Linked DNA regions of Homo sapiens: all the other regions are linked to region 2. The links are contacts of gene promoters, found by promoter capture Hi-C in blood cells and fetal thymus (Javierre and others, 2016). All regions are on one chromosome and are shown on one strand. The core of a region is centred on a gene start or on the middle of the fragment in contact, and the rest is flanking DNA. Distances in the headings are between cores, read along the strand shown. Region 1 overlaps TMEM201 (transmembrane protein 201). Region 2 holds the start of CTNNBIP1-AS1 (CTNNBIP1 antisense RNA 1). Region 3 has its middle 12 kb from the start of PIK3CD.

Region 1 (3,306 bases), core at 267-2,766, 240 kb before region 2:
AGTCTCTAGGATCAGATGGTACCATGCTGCTCTGCCGTCCTCAGTGGCAGTCACGGCTGGAACTGGTGCACCAGGTGCCAGCTGGCAGCAAGGCCTCGGGTGAGCTGGCCTTGTACCTCCAGGGTTTGCTGCTATCTGGCCTTGCTCTCAGCTGATGGTACCCAGGGCTTTGGATGGAAATCAAGGGCAGAAGGCCATGGCTGAGGCTCCGGGATCTCTCCTCTCCCTCAGGTGCCTGGTAGAGGGCACCTCTCCTCCTTCAGCTTTGCAGCAGGACTTCCCCCTGTCCCCAGTCTCTGCACCTTTCCTGTCTTCCCGGGTTAATAGAAGAATGCCCCCAGAAATGAAATAGCGCATTGTAGCGTTGCAGTGACAGGAGCCCACGTTCACATCATCTTCCTCCCTCCCTCCAGATTACTTCTCTCTTCTGTCGGGGAGCTGCCCCTCCTCCCCACTCCCTTCCCCAGCGCCTTCCGTGGCCGGCTCGGTGGCCTCCAGCTCCGGCTCTCTGCGCCACCGCAGGCCCCTCATCAGCCCTGCCCGGCTCAACCTGAAGGGACAGAAGCTGCTGCTGTTCCCGTCACCCCCTGGAGAGGCCCCCACCACGCCCAGCAGCTCCGATGAGCACTCGCCTCACAACGGCAGCCTCTTCACCATGGAGCCGCCCCATGTTCCCCGGAAGCCGCCCCTGCAGGACGTGAAGCACGCCCTGGGTACGGCCTTCTGACCACCCCAAGGGGCCGTGGGAGGGCCTCTGCTGCCAAGAGGCCTGGCTGTGCGGCGGTGGGGGGGCTCATCCTTGCTCTGACTCCGGTGTGCGCCTTCCCACCCTGGAGCTCTAGGCACCCCATTCCGGCTCTGGTGACTTGAACCCTCTGGGACATTGACCTCTAATGGCTGATTTCAGTTTCTCCTTTTGCAGTTGACCTTCAGGGTCCTCTGTTTCTTGGAACTGATCGAAAACACATCACGCATTGCCAGGTGCGTGTGGCCACAGATAGTTTCACTCAAATGGTGCTGTACTGCAAAGCATTTAAAATGTTTATAGTTAGCCCCCAGCCTTTAAAACCTACAACTTTCAACTTTCACATGAATTTGTAGATTTCCTTTTTTTTTTTTTTTCGAGATGCAGTCTCACTCTGTCGCCCAGGCTGGAGTGCAGTGGCGTGATCTTGGCTCACTGCAACCTCCTCCTCCAGGGTTCAAGAGATTGTCCTGCTTCAGCCTCCCGAGTAGCTGGGACTACAGGTGCGCGCCACCATGCCTGGCTAATTTTTATATTTTTAGTAGAGACGGGATATCACCATGTTTCCCAGGCTGGTCTTGAACTCCTGATCTCAAGTGACCCACCCATCTTGGCTTCCCAAAGTGCTGGGATCACAGGCGTGGGCCACTGCGCCCGGCCTCGAATGTTTAGATTTCCCACGTCTCTTTCAATGTCAGAGATCTGGTCACCTTGGGCCTGAATACTGGCAGACAAGAGGTGGCAGGACAGTTGAGCAAGGACCTGGCCCCCCACTGTCCAGGGTGGATGAGTGGCTTGGGACAGCCTGGCTCACCACTTCTGACAACTGTCCTTAGAGTGGAAGTACAGCTGCCCCGCGTCTGTCCCTGGAGGGAGCCATGAGCGCCACTGAGAAACACACCCTTCTCTCTGCAGACCTGAGATCCAAGCTGGAAAGAGGCAGTGCCTGCAGCAACCGCTCCATCAAGAAAGAGGACGACTCTTCCCAGTCATCTACCTGTGTGGTGGACACCACCACCAGGGGCTGCTCGGAGGAGGCCGCCACCTGGAGAGGTCTGTACCCTGAGGTGCGGGAGGGGAGGGGGTGGGCACACATCCGAAGCCACCATCTCCCCCAGGGGGGTCCAGAGCACTGACAGAAAGAATCTTCCAGGACATTGCAGTCCCTGAGTGGCCGACAAGTAACCCACCCGGCGCCTCTGAATCCAGGGTCAGGGACTCAGTAGACGGCACTCCCCCTCTCGGGATTTGGGCCCCGATCTGCACTATTCCAGTAGCTTCTGGCCCCAGGCAGCTATTTAAATTAACTGAATTAAAATTAAATAAAGTTTGAAATGTAGTTCTTGAGCTGCACTAGCCACATTTCAAGTGCTCAGTAGGCACCTGTGGCCCGTGGCTGGCATTTAGGACACATACCGAAGGCTGCCATCCTGGCCGGAAGTGCCCAGAGAGCCTGGGTGCACCGGGACCACGTCACGCTGGGGCTGCAGCCTGCACCGGGTGCCGAGCTGCCTGGCTCAGATCCCAGGTTCTCTGCTCACTAACCCTGGGGCTCAGGGGCAAGAGACCAGATCTGTGGTACACATCATCACTCCCTGGGTGGGGAGGAGGGGGTGTGTGTTGAGGGAGATGGACAGATCAGCAAGCAGGGCTTTTCCTGGGCAGGTCATTTTGCACTGACTCTCAAAGCCAGTGCTGCCCCAGGCTGGAGGGTGGCCCAGCAGCTTGGAGGCCTTGGTGAGAACGCAGGCTGCGGCATGCAGCAGGTGGACCTGGGTTGGCTGCTTATTCCCTTGGAGGCCTGGATGGGGTGCTCCTGTTCCCAGCCCCCATGACCTCATCTGTAAAGTGGCCATTGTGGTCACTGCCTCATCACCCAGGCCCCAGCTCATGACAGCCCAGCCCATGGCCTTCCTGGCGGCTCAGGGTTAGGAAAAGCTGTGCCTTCAGGGAGGCAGGGAGTGGGGGTCTTTCCTGCTAGGGAAGCCTTTGGCCAAGAGAAGAATTGGGGGTGAGCCTCACCAGTCTCAGAGAGTACCCTGGGCAGAGCCTTGAGCTCCCCACAAACTGCATGCTCTAGGGGGCTGCTCAGCTGCACAGCGAACCCACCCACCCAAACAATGTTCTGACCAGGTCTCTGCTTTGCAGGTCGTTTCGGCCCTTCCCTGGTCCGGGGCCTCCTGGCCGTGAGCTTGGCCGCCAACGCCCTGTTCACCTCGGTGTTTCTGTACCAGAGCCTGCGCTGACCCACCGTTGGAGCCCCTCGGAGGGGAGCAACCCGGTGCCTGCTGCTTCACCACTGCCGGCCTCAGGACCCTCCCTGGAGGGGCTGCCACCTCTGCCCTCATCTCCAGGGCCTTGACCTCACTGGACTGTGACTGTCCTCAGGACACCTGCCCCTCCTCACCTAACGGACTGCAGGGCTGAGCATGTGTCTGAGGTCACACTCTCTGCCCACTCACCTCCTTGGCTGACATCGGTTGTGTTTGGTGCTGACACTCTGATCCCGAAGCCAGGGAGCCCCAAGGGGCTGCATGACCCTGGGGTGCCCCACACAGTTC
Region 2 (3,323 bases), core at 565-3,064:
GAGAGAGAAATGAACCTGCCCTGCCCAAGCAAAGGCGGCACCTGGGTGGTGTCAGGGGTCCCCTGGGGCCAGAGTTCCCCCTACCACCAATGGAAGGGATCATATTCCCTGCTAAAAAGACCCTCTTCAAAGGCTGGGGCCCGCCTGGATTCTCAGTGCTGGTATTCACCTGCAGGGACAGGGAGAAGAAGCGCTTCATTCATTCTCAACTGCCCGCCCCCCAAGGCTGGGAAACACCAAGGGCCACAGCCCTCAGCCTCCCCACCCCAGGCTCGGCCTGGCCCCCTGCTGTCTCCGGCAGCTCTGCCTCCTTCCCCGCAGGCTCAGCCTGGCCCCCTGCTGTCTCTGGCTGCAGCAGTCCCAGCGCTGCCTGTTGGGGTCATTACCCCATCCCGTACCTGGGAAGGTGACCCAGGAGGTTGCCTGCTGTGTGGGCTGACGGACCCCGAAAGACCCAAGGCTGTCCCCAGTGTTTTTCCTTTGCCTGCTGAAGTGTCCCCGACTCATTTACGTGGCCTACTTCCCATGACAGTTTAGGCAGCTTAGACAGGTTAGACAGCGCCAGGAGGACGACCCCGCTTGGCTCCGGTTTCCAAGCTCTCTGCTGGGGGCTGGGCAGGTGGGACCAGGGCCAGCCGGTCAGTCCCTTGAACTACTCAGTGGCTCAGCTTAGAAGAGCTGATTAACTACAAGGCTGACAGTGTCACTCAGAGCGCTGGGCAAGGGGTGGAATCTGCACATAATCTACCTACCACGGACCCTTGGATGTGTGTCTCTATGTAACTTCTGGTTAACACAGCAATCTCTGTCTTTCTCTCAATGACTGCAAACTCCTTTCTGGACAAGAAGTTACAGAAAGAGGCAGATCAACTTAATGTAAGGATAAGCATAGGTTACATGAACATGGTCTGGACTAACTTGTGAGGTAGTGAGCTCCCCAACTCGAGAGAGTATTCAAGCAAAGCCTGGACAAGGTCTTTTCAGAAATGTTTCAGAGGGGCTTGTGCATCTAGCTACTGCGTGGGCTGCTACAAGACCCAGTATCTCCCCCAACACAAAGACTTAATGATGTTGGTTGTGCCATTGTACTCATATTCTGTAAACTCCATAGCCTCTAGGACCCAGTGAAATTCTTTGAAAAGGAAATAGAAGCAGTGAGACTATGTAAACAGAAAAAAAAAAAAAAAGACCCAAAAATGGGATTATGAAGGGTGGAAATGAAAATTTCTAGAAAATGCTTCTGAAGCAAAAATTATTGAAGCAGAAATGATTTCAGCTTCCAAACTTGTACATACAGCTAAAAACCAATATATCTTCCACTTCTGGGATGGTGGAAGGGACAGATATTCTGTTTGGGTGTCTGTAACAAGCATTTTAAAACTGGTGCCATCACATCAGGATGTTGGGGTGCCTAGGATGGCGGGGTCCCCACATCCTTACGGAGTGCTTAGTGTCTTTTCATAGGTGTGGAAGACGAGGTTGCCTCTGAAGCTTACTGATCTCAGTTGAATCTGGAATGATGTTTAGAATCTCCAGGTCAAAAAGAAGGTTCAACCTTCTTAACGACCCTTGAGCTGGGCTGGGTAGATCTAGAAATTCTTCCAAACCCTGAGCTCAACTCAGGTCACAGACACTTATCAAACTTGGTGTTGTCCTTCCTGGCTGCGCCTCCCTGGGAAGGAGGGGCCCCCGCAGCAGCAGAGCCCACGTGATGTGGGGAAATCAGTCAGAGCGCCTGATTCCGAGGGAGAAACCAGCTCAGCTCACACACGAACCTATGAAAATTCTTTATTGTTAATTTCTTTCTCCAACAGATATATTTTTAGTTGAAATATGGAGCCACAGCAACACTTTGACTTTTCCTCTTCAGAAGATGAGACAGGCCGGGGTCATCATTGTTACAAAAGCAAGGCCTGTGATCGTGACAAGGACAGGCTGGGGCAGAGACCACACACTCAACCAGGTATCCACCAGGTGTGGGCCCTTTATAGGAGCTACAAAGAGGGGGCAGCCAGCAATGTGGCCTCGACACCTGACTCCAGGCACTCCGACCTGGAGGAGGGAGATGAAAGAACTCACCTTTCCCCAGGGGCTCAGCCAGACCTCCAGGCCCCTGAGCGGGGAGAGTGCGTGTGTGTGCACATGTGTATGAGTGTGCACACGGGTGTGCTCACTCACACAGCACATGCACACATGCGCTGCCCCTCCTGAGATGCTCTCAGGTCCCTGCCAGGGTAGGGTTGTAGCTGTGTTCCCCACAGCTGACTGTCAGCTAACCAGGGCTAGGGGTGAGTGCATGGTGGAGGACACAGGGTCTTAGCCTGATGCTCGAATCCTCCTTCTGGAACAGGCTGATGGTGCCAGAGCACAGCACGAACCACCTACCCACCATGGGGCTCTCCAGGGCTCGGTCATTTGGCTCCTGTGCACTTCATGACACTCAGGAGCCCCTACGGCCCGAGCCCCAAGCCCCGAGAAAGGGGAAAGATTTGGTTCTGAGAGGGTCCCACTGGCCCTGGGCACCTAGGGGCCTCAGCATCTACCAGCATAGGGGAGGGTGGCGGCCCCCTTCCTGAGGACTGCATCTTTCTCCAGCCGCTCTCCCCAGATCCCACACCTGCCAGTGAGCCAGGGAGATAGGAGGACCACCTCCCTCCCAGGGAAGGGGGTGGCAGGTGGAAGGACTTAGGTTTGGTGCAGGAACACTAGACCTGCCCCTCACCCCCTGCCTCCAGGACTGCCATTCTGAACTGCAATTCTGGGCCTGAGTTTGGCTTAAGGGCCAGTCTGAAGGGACTTGCTTGGTGAAGGCCCAGCCAGCTGTCCCAGTGGCATTTCATAAACAAACGATACTGTCCCTTCCAGGCTGACCTGGAGAGAGACCCTTCCAAAGGCAGTGGAGTGGAGGGCATGGGCCTCCGATGAGAGAACTCCAGAGCTGGCCGGGACCTACTGTGCTGGCAGCAGACAGGTAGGAGCCTGGCTGGGGTAGGTCAGGGGTTGGTGTTTAGCTGGAGGTCTCCTGGGCCTTGTGAGCCAAGCTGGGGCTTTTATGTGGGTTCTGGGCTCCCAGAGACCTCCGCCAGATGACCTCCAGAGTCTTTGGGGTCTCACACTGGGAGAAGCTCCTCCCCTTTCCAAGATGACCCCCAAAATGAGGCCTCAGGAAGTGGTACACAGAAGGATGGCCAAGAGGACAGAGCTGGGTAGTACGCCTCTGCTGGGCGCGGCCTGGCCGGTGGGGCCTGGACGGTGCCTCAGCAATCCCTTTCTCACCAAGGGACGCTGGCTGGTTGCCAGCTCATGCAGGCAGTGCACATAAA
Region 3 (3,186 bases), core at 456-2,955, 210 kb before region 2:
TTGAGACTGCGCCATTGTACTCCAGCCTGGGCAACAGAGCGAGACTCTGTCTCAAAATAAATAAATAAATAAATAAATAAATGAAAAAATAAAGGAGCTCTACGTGAGTAAGCAGTGGATGCAAGCAGAGGCTTTCTCTAAGGCTCCTTATCAACCTAAAGATGGGTCTAGGAAAGATCCTATCAGAGGAAAAGAGACTCACAGGCAACCGCCCAGATAGATTGCCACAGACCATCACCTGTTCTGCTGAGGGCAGTTCCAAAATTACCTGAGAGCCGTTATCTGCAGCTTTTCACTCCCTGTGCACTCATGCCTCCCTCACCTCCCCATAGCTTGTCACCCCTCCCTGCAGAACCTCCAAACCCGCTTCCGATGCTATAAAAACTTCAATCATCTAGGCCGGGAGCGGTGGCTCACACCTGTAATCCCAGCACTTTGGGAGGCCGAGGCGGGCGGATCACGAGGTCAGGAGATTGAGACCATCCTGGCTAACACGGTGAAACCCCGTCTCTACTAAAAATACAAAAAGTTAGCGGGGTGTGGTGGCGGGCGCCTGTAGTCCCAGCTACTTGGGAGGCTGAGGCAGGAGAATGGCCAGAACCCGGGAGGCGGAGCTTGCAGTGAGCCGAGATTGCACCACTGCACTCCAGCCTGGGTGACAGAGCGAGACTCCTTCTCAAAAAAAAAAAAAAAAAAACTTCAATCATCTGACCCTTTTGCAAGATTTTTTTTTTTTTTTTGAGACAGAGTCTTGCTCTGTCGCCCAGGCTGGAGTGCCTTGGTGTGATCTCGGCTCACTGCACCCTCTGCTTTCTGGGCTCAAGTGATCCTCCCGCCTCAGCCTCAGGAGGAGCTGGGACTACAGGTGCCCACCACCATGCCCTGCTAGTTTTTGTGGAGATGGGATTTTGCCATGTTGCCCAGGCTGGTCTCAAACTCCTGGGCTCAAGCCATCTGCCCACCTTGTCCTCCCAAAATGTCGGGATTACACGCGTGAGCCATCGCCTCCGGCCTGGGATTAGGATTTGGACGTATCTTTTTAGAGGCCACCATTCAACTCACTACATGTGGGAAATGGTTTCTTCTAATCCTAAACCTTCTCCCTCTCCTGCATGTACACTTTTTCATCCTTGTCTTTCTGTCCTGGGAAAAAGTAACCATCTCTATTCCTTCTCATAGAGGATTTTGGGGATTCACGTGGGGTTACTCCTCACACTAGGTGCTTTTCAAGATAGAGGGCTAACTACCGAGAGTGGGTATTTATCTAGAGAGATAGAGGCTTTTGGAGCAGGAGCACCCTAGGTAGTGGTGGATGGGGCAGGGCCCAGCTCCATCCTGCTGAGCACCCCCGAGAGGGTAACCTATTTGCAAAGCTTTTACTCGTCTCTAAACCACTTTTGCTAAAACGTCTATTTTTAGCCTCACAACTTCTCTGAAGTTGGAGTAACTAACCTCATTTTTACAGAAGAAACAGACTGAAGGGTTGGGGGCAGGGCTGCATTTCAGGGCCCCCAGAAGGGGAGGCTGAGCCCCCCACCCCGGCCCCAAGGACAGAATTTCCAGGGCAGGGCTGGGAGAATAAGGCCTCGCTTTCTGGAGTTTTGCGCCTCCCTCTTCTGGGGCTCTGCCTCTGCCTGCCCCTCAACCTCAACCGTTATCTTCAGGGTTTTTGTTTGTTTGTTTGTTGTTTCTTTGAGACAGAGGCTCGCTCTGTCATCCAGGCTGGAGTGCAGTGGCGCGATCGTGGCTCACTGCAACCTCTGCCTCCCGGGTTCAAGCGATTCTTGTGCCTCAGCCTCCCGAGTAGCTGGGATTACAGGCACCCACCAGTATGCTTGGCTAATTTTTTTGAATTTGTTTTTATTTTTAGTGGAGACGAGGGCTCACTATGTTTCCTAGGCTAGTCTTGAACTCCTCAGTGTAGACAATCCTCCTGCCTCATCCTCCCAAAGTGCTAGGATTACAGGTGGGAGCCACCGTGCCCGACCTCCTTTCTTTCTTTCTTTCATTGCTCAAGTTGTTCTAGCTTTGGCCACTGGAAGCTTTTTCAGTTCATCGCTGTGACCCCCGAGATATGCACCCATCATTGTGGTGTTTTGTTTGGAAGCACTTCTTTTCTTTCTGGAACTTTAAGATGCTCCAGTTTCATCTGTCCGTTTCTTGCCCTCATCCTAGAATTGCCAGTTTCCCCAGGGAGCCCTGGTTCCTTTTGTGGAGGAAAATGGTATCAGAAACCAAGATCCAAGCCAGGCACGGTGGCTCACACCTGTAATCCCAGCACTTTGGGAGGCCAAGGCAGGTGGATCACCTGAGGTCAGGAGTTCAAGACCAGCCTGACCAACATGGTAAAACCTCATCTCTCCTAAAAATACAAAAATTAGCTAGGCGTGGTGGTGGGCGCCTGTAATCCCAGCTACTTGGGAGGCCGAGGCAGGAGAATCGCTTGACCAGGGAGGCGGAAGTTGTAGTGAGCCGAGACTGTGCCATTGTACTCCAGCCTGGGCAACAAGAGCAAAACTCTGTCTCAAAAAAAGAAAAAAAAAAAGAAACGAAAATCAAGATGCTGGTGTGCTGGTGCATTCTCCTTGCTCCTGGGGTGTTGTTGCTTCTAGGTCTTTCCATTTGACTGAGCAAGGAAATGTACGGGTGTCTATTGCAGGCTTTTTCACATGTGAATCACAGTCCCGCCACTCCCCGGCTCAGCCTGGAACCTTCCCTCTGCTTTTCAGTGCTCTTTTGGTCAAATCCAAATCCTCAGCTGCCCCCTCCCGCATCCTCCTTGCTATCTGCACCCAACTTGGGCCTCCCTGCCTCCAGCATGCCACCACTGCCCAGGGCCTTTGCACCATTTCTTCCCAAAGCCTGCGATGCTCTGGCCTTCGAGACCCACGCGGCTTCTCCTCCGTCAGTTCATCCAGGTCCGTGCTCAGCTCCAGTGTCCTGACCTCAAGGAGGCCTTCCTAGTTCTGTAGTCCCCCTTCCCCTGTCTCTCCCCTCCTATCTTACATTTTTCGGCAGCACAACACTGTATCTTATTTTTATTCTTCTTAGTTTCTCTTCCTTACTGAGTATAAACTCCAGGGGGTTGCGGGGGCGGCAGGCCTGGGGCTTGTCCAGTGCTGCATCTCCAGAGCCCAACTGTATCAGGCACAGCTTGCTGCAAGATACACACTTGCTGGATGAATC

The links. The method cuts DNA at HindIII sites, captures the fragments that hold promoters and counts their contacts. A CHiCAGO score of 5 or more calls a contact.
Region 1: a contact is called between a fragment that was not itself captured here and the fragment with the promoter of CTNNBIP1-AS1 in region 2, in 8 of 17 cell types (M0 macrophages, non-activated CD4 T cells, naive CD4 T cells and 5 more). The highest score is 8.2, in M0 macrophages.
Region 3: a fragment that was not itself captured here is called in contact with the fragment with the promoter of CTNNBIP1-AS1 in region 2 in 1 of 17 cell types (fetal thymus); the score reaches 7.0 in fetal thymus.

Annotation. Positions count from the first base shown.
Region 1 is chr1:9,610,093-9,613,398 of GRCh38, forward strand. It overlaps TMEM201 (transmembrane protein 201), which reads left to right. Exons shown (of 11, transcript NM_001130924.3): 9 at 414-713; 10 at 1,661-1,798; 11 at 2,894-3,306. The coding sequence ends at 2,991. Among named protein-coding and RNA genes, the nearest start is that of TMEM201, 23 kb to the left of the region's middle. RefSeq lists a silencer at 1,628-1,863. The HindIII fragment of the contact is 5,519 bases long and covers 1-3,306 here.
Region 2 is chr1:9,846,504-9,849,826 of GRCh38, forward strand. CTNNBIP1-AS1 (CTNNBIP1 antisense RNA 1) reads left to right here and starts at 1,815. Exons shown (of 3, transcript NR_199045.1): 1 at 1,815-1,963; 2 at 2,866-2,971. It overlaps CTNNBIP1 (catenin beta interacting protein 1), which reads right to left. Exons shown (of 6, transcript NM_020248.3): 6 at 1,773-3,323. RefSeq lists an enhancer at 1,814-2,315. The HindIII fragment of the contact is 10,320 bases long and covers 1,490-3,323 here.
Region 3 is chr1:9,638,054-9,641,239 of GRCh38, forward strand. It overlaps a transcript of PIK3CD not described here. Among named protein-coding and RNA genes, the nearest start is that of PIK3CD, 12 kb to the right of the region's middle. The HindIII fragment of the contact is 669 bases long and covers 1,372-2,040 here.